Regions from separate parts of the Homo sapiens genome. Here all the other regions are linked to region 1. Evidence: promoter capture Hi-C in 16 types of primary human blood cells and fetal thymus (Javierre and others, 2016). All regions are on one chromosome and are shown on one strand. The core of a region is centred on a gene start or on the middle of the fragment in contact, and the rest is flanking DNA. Distances in the headings are between cores, read along the strand shown. Region 1 holds the start of YPEL4 (yippee like 4). Region 2 overlaps P2RX3 (purinergic receptor P2X 3). Region 3 holds the start of PRG3 (proteoglycan 3, pro eosinophil major basic protein 2).

Region 1 (4,350 bases), core at 1,309-3,808:
TCTGTCACCAGGCTGGCGCGATCGGCTCACTGCAACCTCTGTGAGTACAGTGGCGCCATCTCAGCTTACCGCAACCTCTGACTTCCTGTTCAAGCGATTCTCCTGCCTCAGGCTCTCGAGTAGCTGGGATTACAGGCACGTGCCACCATGTCCAGCTAATTTTTGTTATTTATTAGGGATGGGGATTTCACCATGTTGGCCAGGATGGTCTCGATCTCCTGACCTTGTGATCTGCCTGCCTCGGCCTCCCAAAGTGCTGGGATTACAGGCGTGAACCACCGCACCTGGCGAGAATGTTGTTTTGAAATGACACTACTGTTTACTGCCTATCATGTGCCAGGCATTTTTCAGGCATTTAAATGTTATCTCACTTTATTCTGCATCTCCATGAGCTAATAATAATAAATATTATTAGCTTCATTTAGCAGAAGAGTAAGACTAAGGCACAAAGATTATCAGTAATTTGCCTAGTGGTTCCTGCCAAGTAATTGGCAGAGCTAAGAGTCTAATTCAGTCTCTTTGAGACCAAAGCCAGACACTTGGTTCATGTCTGAAGATGCAACTCAACTGCTCTATTAATCAGAGTTCTCTAGCGGGATAGAACTAATAGGATAGATGTATATATAAATCAGAGTTATTACGGAATATTGACTCAGATGATCACCAGATGAGGTCCCACAGTAGGCTGCCTGCAAGCTGAGGGGCAAGGAAGCCAGTCCGAATCCCAAAGTTGAAGACCTTGGAGTTCAATATTCGAGGGCAGGAAGCGTCCAGCATGGGAGAAAGACGTAGGCTCAGAGGCTAAACCAGTCTGGTCTTTCCACGTTCTTCTGTCTGCTTTTATTCTGGCCTAGCTGACAGTTGATTACATTGTGCCCATCCAGATTGAGGTGGGTCTGCCTTTCCTAGTCCATTGACTCAAATGTTAATCGCCTTTGGCAATACCCTCACAGACACACCCAGGAACAATACTTTGCATCTTTCAATCCAATCTAGTTGACAATATTAACCATCACCAGTCCACCCCTTGTCAACTTGAACCCATACACGTCTCCTGAAATCATACATGATCTTCAAATAAAGACAATAATAAGGTCATAATTACGCTTAACATAATACAGCTATCCTTTGTACAACCGGAAACGCACCAATCCCCAACCCAAATGCTATTACATAGAGTTAACAACACTTAAGTGCTGATATCAAGTCAGTAAGTCTTATGTCACATGATAAAGGCAAAAGAAAGGAAATAAAATGAAGATATTTTCTTAATACAAGTGTATATATGCACAAACATGTTCCTAACAAAAGGAGGAGGAAATACTCATGACAATTACAGTCCTCATTTTCTGCAGCTGGTCACATGGTCATAGTTCGTATTGATGACTACCTTCTTTGACTACCCATTCTGAATTCCGTTTGCCTTCAGCAAGCACCTCAGCAGATTATGTTTTTTTTACCTGGTGGAGTGACCCAAACCTTCATTCCTGAAGGGTCTGGGCCATTTGTCATCCTGCCTGGATTGGGCTGTTGCAGTTTCCCATTGACCTTAATCACAGGGCATGGTAATATTAAGAGACGCCCTACGTGATCTCCTGTATTCCACGCATACTTCCTTACCGCCATTGTGGAGTAGTAGACTGATTTCATCTTGATAGTCTGGGTCAAACACTGTAACTCCCTTCTTAGCAAGTTGGCTTAAAAGTAAGAAGAGCCCAAAGTGGCCAGGTGGCAATCTTAACTTCCAGTTTAATGGAATCATTGTTGTGTCTCTTGGTGGCAGCATTCCTCCCTCTGGAACTAAGACCTCTAGGCCAGCAGAACATAATGCCGCGGAAACAACTGCTATTTTGGAAACATCTAAATGCACGGGTCTGCACTGGACATTGCAGTCCTGGGATGTAGAGAGTAATTTCCCAGAAGGCCTGTCTCAGGAAGTTTACAGCCCAATAGAGAACTTCATATAACGTAGGTGTCTCCATTCATGAAGCACGCATAATATGGAGGTAGCTGTTAAGGGGTTCCTGCATGCAAAATGTCACATTGGGTCTATTACTCCTTCAGGAGTATTAAACCAAGGCTTTGAGGCTTGGTACAAGTTTGGGGGCACAGTTTGCCATCCATGACAATTAGTACATCTGTCTTTTCCCTGCTTCAGGGCTGGTGTCCAAGCTGAAATGGGAAAGTGTATCATCTTAAATGTGTGTGTGCTCCCTCACTCTGCATCCATCTCTTCCTTCACCAGCCTTGCCACCTCCTTTCCTCCAGCCCTGCCACCCTCACTGCATCCTTGCCCAGCCCTGTCCTTCCCCCAGGTTCTTCGTATCTCCTTGGCCCCACTGCCTTCCTCCTTAACAACCTGCCTCTCCCCTTGCCCACCATCGCCGCCTTGTCCCTCGGCCCCCACTCCTCTAGCCCCGTCCCTTGATGCCTACCCCCTCCCTTCCTTCCGACCCGCCTCCTGTGTCTCCCAGCCCTGCTCTGACGTGGGAGGTGAGGGGGGGTGGGGGGGATGGATGACTCACAGTGTTATGATGCAGTTCCACAACACACAGCCACATTCACCCACAGACCGAGGTACAGAACGAGAGACAACCTCTGCCCCCCCAGCAGCTGGCCAGCTTTGCAGCCCCAGTCTTGAGCCCCCAACTACCCTCCCCCCACCCACCCCCATCCCCTTCCCAATTGAAGGAGCGGAAAGAGAAGAGAGAAGAGTGAGCAGAGAGATTGAGAGATTGAGAGAGAGAGAGAGAGATAGACGGAGATCTCTGGAGCAGACCTCAAGGTGAGGGGGCAGCCCTTCTCCAAATGAATTTTTTTCTCTTTGCAAATTTCCTCCTCCTGCTGCGTGTTGCTTTCTCCCCTTTGCAAAAGCATTATTCATCCACCCTTTGTCCTCCCTTCCCCCTCCCCGCTGCCTCCGCTCCTCTCTCTCGGTTCCTCCATCCCTCTCCAAGCTCTGACGATTCCCGCACTTATTTCCCGGCAACTTTGGCTGCAGCATCAGGCATCACTGTTTATTGTTTTGCTGCTGGTGCAGACCCCCAAAGCCTGCCCTGGGAGCTGGCGGTGCTGCTAATTATTTGGACCATACCATACTGAGAATACCAGCCTGGGGGGTGCCAAAACCTCAGAGCAGATGAGAAAATCCATTGTGAGCAGGTGTCCCCCCCCTTTTCTTTTCCCCCCTGAGAAGCACGAGATTCGCACCTGGTTCCTCCAGCCTCCGCCTCGGCGCCTCTGCTGTCAGCTGTCAGTTGCCCCCGCCAGCCCTCCCTCTCCCCTTTCTCCTACGGTCCAGCCCCGTCTCACTTCAGGGGAACATCTCTCCCCAGCACTCGGCTTGCCTTTGTTTTTTCTCCAGTCATTTGCCCAACTTGCTTCTCCCTGTGATCCGAGATGGGTGAAAAAATGACCCCTACTCCCCTTTGTGATTCTCTGGCCTTCTGTGCAGCCTTTCCTTGGCTTGACTGGGAATTAGGGGAGAGGGAGGGAGGCGTGACGGCCGGAGGCTGGAGAAGGAGCTCAGGATTGGGGACCCAAGCTGCCCCATTCTCCATGCCCCTTGAAGAAGGTGTTTCAAGGTGGTGCATGTCAGAGGGGAACTCGCTGGCAAAGTTGAAGGCAAACCTGTGAAGCAGAGACTGAAAGGTGGTCTCTTGGCAAGGAGGGCCCGTTTCCTGCAGCCGGAGCCCAATGTCACCCTGAACTCAGCCCAAGGTGTCTTCCTGGGACCCAGCCCGGAGGAGAGGACCTGAAACTGAAGATAGTCTCTATGGAGGTTTTGCGGAGAGACTGCCTGGCGGCCTTCAGAGAGAGTGGAACAGCTGGGTGCCTGTGGCCACTGCGGAGGACAGGACGAGGAGAGCCTGTATGCCCTGGCTAACCAGAGCCAACACTGCCTCTTCTCTGCTTAGTGCTCTAGCATTGCCAGAGTGCCCAGCTGGCATCTCTGAACCAGACTTAGGCTAACCACCCACAGTGGGCTGGGAAGCCCTATGAAGGAGAAAGCAGCAGCTCACCTGCTTATCGGAGCCAACAGGGGCCACCTCCCTTCTTATCCTCTGCCTCCAGCACCTTCAGCCACTCGGAGGCTGGCGCGTGGGCAGAAGGCAATCTTCCTCTATTCCTAATCAGAACCCAGCAATTACTTCATCTTCAGTCACCCACAGAGTCACTGCTGTTTGTCCCTGCCCCTGGGAGAAGGTAGAAAGAAACATTTTCTGCCTTGTGCCCCAAAGCACAGCTGTTAAAAATAAGAGTCCCCCTTCTGCTGTTCGTTGTGGCCGTTGCTCTCACCCTACCACACAGCCCTGCCCAGCCCAGGAATCAGGCTCCTCTGACATGCTA
Region 2 (4,350 bases), core at 664-3,163, 290 kb after region 1:
GTCTCCATGCCCACTGTTTATAGAGCACCAACAATATAGGAAGTTCCTTAATATAAGCATCTCCACTAATCTCATGAAGACTATACTGTTGTTGAGTCATTGTACAGATGAGGAGACAGGTGAGAAGATAACTTGCCAGAGCTGGGATTCTAATCCATACCGATGCCTCCAAAGTTCATGCTCATACCCCTTGAACCATCCTGCCTCTGAGCTCTTGGAGGCTGTTAAGGATAACGCAGCCCTTGTGCAAGATATCAAAGCCTTCTAAATACTGTGTCCTGTCTCACATCACTGGAGAATTTAAGGCCCTTGTCTCAGAGATGTGGTTCCTCATGCCCATGGGTAGTGGGCAGGGGTGAGAGGGTGGATCACAGAGGTTTGGGGCAGGGCAGAGGCTGGGCCTGTCATCCGGAAATCTTTACTGCTGGCCAAAGGCTGCAACCATGAAAACGGCTCTGACAGTGACATCAACTTGGAGAACAAAAAGTCGTATCCTGGGCACTGCCGTTCAAAGTGAGGGCTGGCTAAATTTATCCTGGGAAGGAATGTGAAGGGAACAGGGAGAAAAATCAAAGCGGACTTGGTTTTTCTCCAGCACCTGCCTTCCAAGAGGCAATAAGCATGGTAAGATCATTATCTCACCAACCACCCACCCTCTGAGGAGGGTTGGCAGGGACTGGTTCTCTTCCCGGGTGGAGGGAGGAGGAACAGAGCTCAGGGAGTGTGGGCCCAGGCTGCAGACAGAGGGGGTAACCCAGAAGTCCCAGCTTCTGCACTCTCCTGTGGCCGATGGGGATCACAGAATCTGCCCACCCCTGTGACAGAGACAGCTCATTGGTCACCAGGGTCTGGTTATCTCCTCTCTTTGCAGATGATTAGACCACATTTCCCAGTCCCCTGCATTTAGCTGGGGCCCCATGACTAGTTTTTGCTGATGAAATATGAATGGCCGTGAGGTTTGTTACCTCTGGACTGAGGTAGTTTAGAGCAGTGTACCTTCTATGTCTTCCCTTTCCTCACCTGATGGCCAGTTGCTCAGGAGTCAGGAGAGGACTCTGAGGCTCTAGAGAGACTGAGTCAAGATGGCAGGAGCCTAGATCCCTGAATGACTGCATGGCGCTCCCCACCCCCACTGGCCCACAGTGCACTGTGCCATAGGTAAGAAATCAACCTTCACATTAAGCCACTGAAATGAGGGGTTTGTTTGTTATAGCAACTAGCAATGCTAACCCTGACTGTTGCAAACTCTCAGAATTTCATGGCTGAGAGATGTAATTTGCCAAGGGACAAAGAAAGAGCTGAAGTTGGGGAGTTACTCAGGATTAGACAGAGGGCACAGTCCCATGATGCTATATCCCAGGAGTAAACCCTCTAAGGAGGCCCTAGGGGATCTGGGTGTGGTGCTATGGCTGTTGTGAATTAGCTTCTTGATCTTGGGAAGGTCATTCGACTTCTCTGAGCTTTTTACTTCAACTGAAAAATTGGAGGAAAAAGAGCTCTGAGGAGGATGAGTTGAGAGAGTGTCCATATATAGTCCGTGCTTAAAACACATCCCTTATCCTAGCATAAAGATAAAATGAAACAATATCTACATTTACTTTAATCATTACACTCTCCTGGCTCCTGTAGATAATGATATTAGTAATAATAACAGCCAACATCTACTGAGTACTCCTCTGTGACCCGACACTGTGCTAAGTGCTTATGCTTATTAGCTCATTTAATGCTCACAACCACCCCATTGCATTTAAGTACTGTTGCTATTCCCATGTCACAGCTGAGGAATCAAGATCAGAGAGGTGAAGCAACTTGTCTAAGGTCACAAAACCAACAGTGAGTGAAGCTGGGATTCGAACCCAGGCAGTCCAGCTGTCGGACCCACACTCTTAGCCAGCATTCTACACTGTTCTTTTGTTGCTTGATTTCTGTTGGGTCATAACTAATTTCGTTCTCCAGCTGGTGCATCTTTTTGCATTTGCTAGGTGGGTCTCCATACCCAGAGTCACTGGCTGGGAGCAGAACAGGAAGCCTGGGGGGCCATGCAGTGTCAGGACAGAAGGACCCTGTAGCCTCCTCATCTAAAAAGGGGAATGGCTCAGCTACATACACCATGCCCAAGCCTTGATTTTCCCCAAGTCCTCTGGTTCTTACCAGATCATTTTTATTTTTTTGGTTAGGATTGGGGTTGGTGAGAATGACAGGACCATTCGATACCTTGACTCCTCCCGACCTGGCCCAGTCCACCTGCCTTATCTGCAAGCTCTTCTCCCTGCCACACGCTCAAGTTCCAGCCACACCAGACTACCTGCCTTCCTGCATTTCCTGAACACATCCCACAGACACAGATGTCTATGCTTTTGCCCATGCTGTTCCTCTTGCCTCCCTTTTCCACCTTGCAGACTCCTATTCATCCATTAGAGCCCAGCTCAGATGACCTCTTGTTCTTTCAGCATTCAACAAACATTTGGAGCACACCTGCTCTGTGCCAGATACTGTTCTAGGTACTGCTGATACCTTGCCAAGCTCTGCTGTCATGAGAGGGAGAGAAATACTAATTAACCACACAAGCCCATAAGTAGCTAAAATCGGACATAAGGAAGGGTTGGGAAGGAGAGGAGTGCCATTCTATGAGCACAGTTAGATGTCTAACCTAGGCTGGGGGTTAGGCAAGGCTTCATGTGAAAGTGACCCTGAAACCGGCAATACCATTTAACCCAGCAATCCCCTTACTGGGTATATACCCAAAGGAATATAAATCATTCTATTATAAAGATACATGCATGCATGTTTATTGCAGCACTGTTCACAATAGCAAACACATGGAATCAACTCAAATGCCCATCAATGATAGACTGGATAAAGAAAATGTGGTATATATACCATGGAATACTATGCAGCCATGAAAAGGAATGAGATCATGATCTTTGCAGGGATATAGATGAAGCTGGAAGCCATCATCCTCAGCAAACTAACACAAGAACAGAAAACCAAACATTGCATGTTATCATTCATAAGTGGGAGCTGAACAATGAGAACACATGGATACAGGGAGGGGAACAACACACACTGGTGCCTGTTGGGGGTGCAGGGGGAAGGAGAGCATCAGGATAAATAGCTAATGCATGTGGGGCTTAATACCTAAGTGATGGGTTTATTGTGCGGCAAACTACCACGGCACACGTTTACCTACGTAACAAACCTGCACGTCCTGCACATGTATCCCAGAACTTAAACTTAAAAAAAAAAAAAGTGACCCTCAAGCTGGGGCTTGAAGGATGGAGAGTTAAAAGGGCAAGAAGGCCAGAGGCAGGGGCCGCTTTCCTGGCTGAGGGATCTGCAGGCCCTCTCACGGGAAAGAACGTGGTGTTTCTGAAGCAGCTGGAAGAGGGTTGGTGGGCTGGTGGGTAGAGGCAGATGGAAGTGGCAGCAGCTGGGTCCACACATCCCAGCTGGCAGCCAATTGTGTGCATCTCTTCCCAATTCCATGTTTAGTGACTTCACCTTGGTAGCTTGAAATTGACCATCCTGGAGTATTTACCTCACAGAAATCCAGCCAATGCTACAAACCAGGGGCATGAGCTGGGGTTGGGACATCCCCCAGGGCTGCCTTTTCTCTCTCCATTAGGATTCAGGCCTCTACTACAGTATCTGCCACACCAGACTATAGCTAATAATTTGGACTACGGACTATGAGCCATATCTCGCTGTTTCTTTTTCTTTCTTTTTTTCTTTTTTTTTTTGAGACAGAGTCTCGCTCTGTCACCAGGCTGGAGTACACAGTGGAGCGATCTCGGCTCACTGCATCCTCTGCCTGCTGGGTTCAAGTGCATCTCCTGCCTCAGCCTCCCAAGTAGCTGGGATTACAGGTGTGCACCACCATGCCCAGCTAATTTTTTGTATTTTTTTTAGTAGAGACAGGGGTTCACCATGTTGGCCAGGATGGTCTCCATCCTGACCTTGTGAACCGCTCACCTCGACCTCCCAAAGTGCTGGAATTACAGGAATGAGCCACCGCGCCTGGCCTCATATCTCACTGTTTCTGTTTGCCCAAAGGCCTAATGCTCACAGTAGGGGGTTGAGTAAATGCTTGCTAGAAGAATAAATAATTTCTGAGATTCTTGACATCTCAAAGATTGAGTTTAGGTAGGTTGTCCTCAGGGCTCCCTCCTGCTGCCACTGGTTTCTCCAAATGCTCCTGATTCTGCAGGTGGAGCTAGTATAAGGTAGTAACAACAGGCTGCTTCTCTCCCCAGCAGAACACAGTTAGATTTGGCAGCTAGCTAGGTGGGAAAGTGGGTGCCACTTGTGGGAGCCAGCCTCTCGATAGGGGCAATGCGGGAAAGAGTAGGA
Region 3 (4,350 bases), core at 1,208-3,707, 270 kb after region 1:
TAGCCGGGTGTGGTGGCACATGCCTGTAATCCCAGCTACTCAGGAGGTTGAGGCTGGAGAATCGCTTGAACCTGGGAGGCGAAGGTTGCAGTGAGCCGAGATCGTGCCATTGCACTCCAGCCTGGGCAACAAGAGCGAAACTCCGTCTCAAAAGAAAGAAAGAGATTTTTTCTTTTTCTTAAAAAGTAAAAATCATGAAATAAGGGGACTGGGCTAATATTCCAAAATATGGGTTTGTGTGTGAATTTTCCTCTCCAGTAAGATACTAACTAAGCTCTGTGAAACTGTTTATCTATGGTTCTTTATCATTGAATCCTTGGAGTTCCTTACACTGTGCAGAGCACAGAGTAGGGGCTCAATCAACAGTGCACTCATTGCTTTTTCATAGACAAGGGCCACCCTCACTCAACTCATGTGCCAGGCATAGTTCTGAGAGCTTTGCTTAAGCTGATCTCATTAGAGGTAAGTCTTGTCATTAGCCTTAGTTTACAGATGAGAAAGCTGAGGCAGAGAGGGGCTGACCCTGGAACTTGTGATTTCATTATACATCACCCTACACTGCCTCTCAAGATGGCAAGGCCTACCGTCTGCATAATGAGGGGATGGACTGAATCTTGGAACAAGAGGCGGAGTTTGAAACCCCTGTGAACACAAATGCAAACATTAAGCCAGAGGCTTGGGGTTCCATGGATGCTGAAAGCAATGTTTTCATCATTGGCTAGATCATCTGGGGGTAACACATCTGGGTGTGTCAAAGAAAGCAAAGATTTGGGAGTCAGACAGACTAGGATCTGATGTATCATTTGTTACTAGTTGTGCAAACTTGGATAAGTCATTTGACTTCTCTGAGCTTTTGTAGTACCTATATAGACTAGAGATGGCAATACCCAATTTGTAGGATGACTTTTAAGGATTAAGCTGTTGTTAAGTAACAGATGTAAAAACCTTAATGAAGCATAGTGTCTGGTCCATGGAAGACCTTCAAAAATGTTTTTTCTTGTTTTAAATCAGACAGAAAAGGTCACTGAGGTCATTGGAATATCTTTGCCCAGGGTTTATATACAGTGAAAACAGGATCGACTTGAAAGAGGGAATGGTCTGTTCAGGAGGGAGGTTGATGAGAGGAGGCTAGAGAAACACAGCTATCCGGTGGATAAGGAGCTGGGAGCCTATGGTTCAGGCCTGTCTCTACTTGCTTGTGACCTTGGGCAACTTGTTTAAAGTCTCTGAGATGTCATTTCTCCATCTGTAAAATGAAACAACAAGGCCGGGCATGGTGGCTCCCACCTGTAGTCCCAGCACTTTGGGAGGCCAAGGTGGGTAGATCACCTGAGGTCAGGAGTTCAAGACCAGCCTGGCCAATATAGTGAAACCCCGTCTCTACAAAAATAAAAAAATTATCTGGGCATGATTGCAGGTGCCTCTAATCCCAGCTACTCGGGAGGCTGAGGCCGGAGAATTGCTTGAACCTGGGAGGCGGAGGTTGTAGTGAGCCGAGATCATGCCATTGCACTCCAGCCTAGGTGACGGAGCAAGATTCTGTCTCAAAAAAAAAAAAAAAAAAAAAGAAAAAAGAAAAGAAAAAGAAACAATGAATGAGTGTGAGGCTCATGGTAGTATTGGTTCCTGAGAGTAGCCAACCTTATTGGTCATCCCAGCCACGAAGTGAAATGGTACCCCTGGCTTGGGCCAATGAATGAGGAAGAATAATGGCAAATGGGGGTCTATGCCTCCACCCTCCACCACTAGGGAGGTCTCAAGCTTGAAATCCAGTGACCAGGTTTTTAGGTCCTGGACCTGGCCAGTCCTCCTACAGTCAAGTAGATAAGTGGAGGGTTTGGTCCGTTGGGCTACGGAGATAGTGATCAAGGCCGTTACTCTGCAATCAGACTCAGAAATGGCCTCTCAGTTACTTCTCCATTTGTGGGTCTTTTGGAAGAGCAGAGAAGAGGAAGGAATTTAGGTCTTCTCACCCTCTGGGCTGCCTGTCCCTGCTCCCTGAGCCATGGAGGGCTGGGGTGGAATATGGGGAATAAATCTGTACTTTTTTTTTTTTTTTTTTTTGAGACAGAGTCTCGCTCCGTCGCCCAGGCTGGAGTGCCGTGGCGTGATCTCTGCTCACAGCAGCATCTGCCTCCCGGGTTCAAGTTATTCTTCCACCTCAGTCTCCTGAGTAGCTGGGATTACAGGTGCCCACCACCACGCCCGGCTAATTTTTGTATTTTTAGTAGAGACAGGGTTTCACTGTGTTGGGCAGGCTGGTCTCAAATACCTGACCTCAGGTGATCCACCCGCACATGCCTCCCAAAGTGCTGGAATTACAGGCATGAGCCACCGTGCCCGGTCCTACCAATCTGCACATTTTAATTGACAAGGGTCACCCTCCACTCATGTGCCAGGCATAGTTCTGAGAAGCATCCCACAAGGATGCCTCTGAGTTCACCCTGACAAGTCCACTAGCTCTTGGCAGAGACATCTGGCAAATTCAAGGCTTGAGACATGCTGGCCTCTCTTTAAAGTGCAGCAAATTTTGTCTAGAGCTTGGTCAGTTAAAATTTTGATGTTTTGTTTTGCATTAATTTCAATTTTTAAGAAATGTTGCATTAAAATGTTATTTATCTTGAATAGTAAATTTCTTAGTGTCCCCTTAATTTCTTAGTGTGTCTGAGTTGAGAGCCTCCCCTGCCTGATTCTAGTCCAGACCCTGGGGTGACAGAAGACTGGTGGGAGATGGGAGGTGAGGAGGGGAGTGTTGGTTGGAGAGGATGATCTACAGAGTGCTGGAGAGACTCTGTATGGAGCTTTTCATGCTGCCTGTTTGCCAGCCCTGAAGCTATGCCTTGAGGTTGGGCAAGGTGGCATATCCTAGATCAGAGATCCTCAACTGGGGCCATTTTTCTCCCCAGAGGACATTTGGAAACATGTGGAGACATTTTTGATCATCTGCGGGGGTGGGGAGAGGGGCTACTGACATCTGGTGAGTAGAGACCAGAGGGACCATTAAACTTTCTACAACGCCCAGGACAGCCCCTCCACAATAAAGAGTTATTTGACCTCACATATTAATAGCACAAAGTTGAGGAACCTTGATCTAGATCCACAGCACAGAAGAAAGGATGTAGATTTTTCACACATTAAAGATGAGAAAGCTTGTGCCTGTAATCCCTGTGACTCAGGAGGCTGTGGCAGGAGGATTACTTGAGCCCAGGAATTCAGGGTTACAGTGAACTATCATCGCAGCACTGCACTCCAGCCTGGGTGACAGAGCAAGATTTTGTCTCTTAAAAAAAAAAAAGATGAGGACAGGCACAGTGGCTCATGCCTGTAATCCCAGCATTTTGGGAGGCCGAAGTGGGTGGATCACGAGGTCAGGAGTTCAAGACCAGCCTGGCCAGCATAGTGAAACCCCATCTCTACTAAAAATACAAAAAATTAGCCAGCTACTTGGGAGGCTGAGGCAGGAGAAGCGCTTGAACCCGGGAGGTGGAGCTTGCAGTGAGCCAAAATCTTGCCATTGCACTCCAGCCTGGGCGACAGAGCAAGACTCCGTCTCAAAAAGAAAAAAAAAAAAGATGAGAAAGAGGAAGGGAGAGAAAAAAGAGAGAGAGGAAAGAAAGAGAGAAGGTTTTGGAGTCAAAAAGACTTAGAAATTCCAGTTCTTCCACTTCCCATGGAACCTTGGCAAGTTGCCTTCTCTCTTTCTCTGAATCTCACATTTTGCCTCTGTGAAGTAGGGGTGGTACCTGGTGGAGATGATGCGGAGATGAGGGTGAGGGGTGTGTTGCACACTATGCCCCTAGGATGGGTGAGAGCTTGGGAGCACTGAACCTCCCTTTCCCCTCTTGTTTCTTCCCCCCATTGTCTCCCACCAGCTCCCTGGGATCTCCACTTCACTCTCTGGGATTCCACCAGCAGGAGGCTACTCCTGGAGTTAAGGCGTGTTGTTCAGACTGGGGCATTTTAGGGGGCATAAATAATAATTATGCCTGGACAATGGACATAACATCTAGGGCCTTCTGAAGCAAACCAGGGTGTGGGGTACCCAAACAAGGCAGTAGGCCCCAGGAGGCAGGTCCCTGCAGTCCCAGCAGAGAGCAGGGCACAGGGTTGAGAAGACTGAGCAAACTTCATTATCAGCTCCTTTGTCCCCCACTCTGTCCTGGAGCAATCATTCTGGCCTCTTCCCACTTCCCCAAAAACCCAGTATAAAGGCTGCTTCTGGCCCCTGAAGCCAGAGGCACTGAGAGTGGAGGTCTCAGACTCTTGGAAGGTGAGTTCTTTTCTGGCTGCCCAGGCAGGACCAGTGTAGGCCCTGGGAAGAAGCAGCACCTCATAGGGCAAACACGTAGG

Evidence for each region. The method cuts DNA at HindIII sites, captures the fragments that hold promoters and counts their contacts. A CHiCAGO score of 5 or more calls a contact.
Region 2: a contact is called between a fragment that was not itself captured here and the fragment with the promoter of YPEL4 in region 1, in 5 of 17 cell types (M1 macrophages, activated CD4 T cells, M0 macrophages and 2 more). The highest score is 7.4, in M1 macrophages.
Region 3: a contact is called between a fragment that was not itself captured here and the fragment with the promoter of YPEL4 in region 1, in 1 of 17 cell types (activated CD4 T cells). The highest score is 6.5, in activated CD4 T cells.

Annotation. Positions count from the first base shown.
Region 1 is chr11:57,648,120-57,652,469 of GRCh38, reverse strand. YPEL4 (yippee like 4) reads left to right here and starts at 2,558. Exons shown (of 5, transcript NM_145008.3): 1 at 2,558-2,785. MIR130AHG (MIR130A host gene) reads right to left here. Exons shown (of 2, transcript NR_186232.1): 2 at 1-2,172. RefSeq lists an enhancer at 4,047-4,186. The HindIII fragment of the contact is 14,007 bases long and covers 1-4,350 here.
Region 2 is chr11:57,360,186-57,364,535 of GRCh38, reverse strand. All of the region lies in intron 8 of P2RX3 (purinergic receptor P2X 3), which reads right to left. Among named protein-coding and RNA genes, the nearest start is that of PRG3, 19 kb to the left of the region's middle. The HindIII fragment of the contact is 9,478 bases long and covers 1-4,350 here.
Region 3 is chr11:57,381,034-57,385,383 of GRCh38, reverse strand. PRG3 (proteoglycan 3, pro eosinophil major basic protein 2) reads left to right here and starts at 4,234. Exons shown (of 6, transcript NM_006093.4): 1 at 4,234-4,270. The HindIII fragment of the contact is 1,388 bases long and covers 1,764-3,151 here.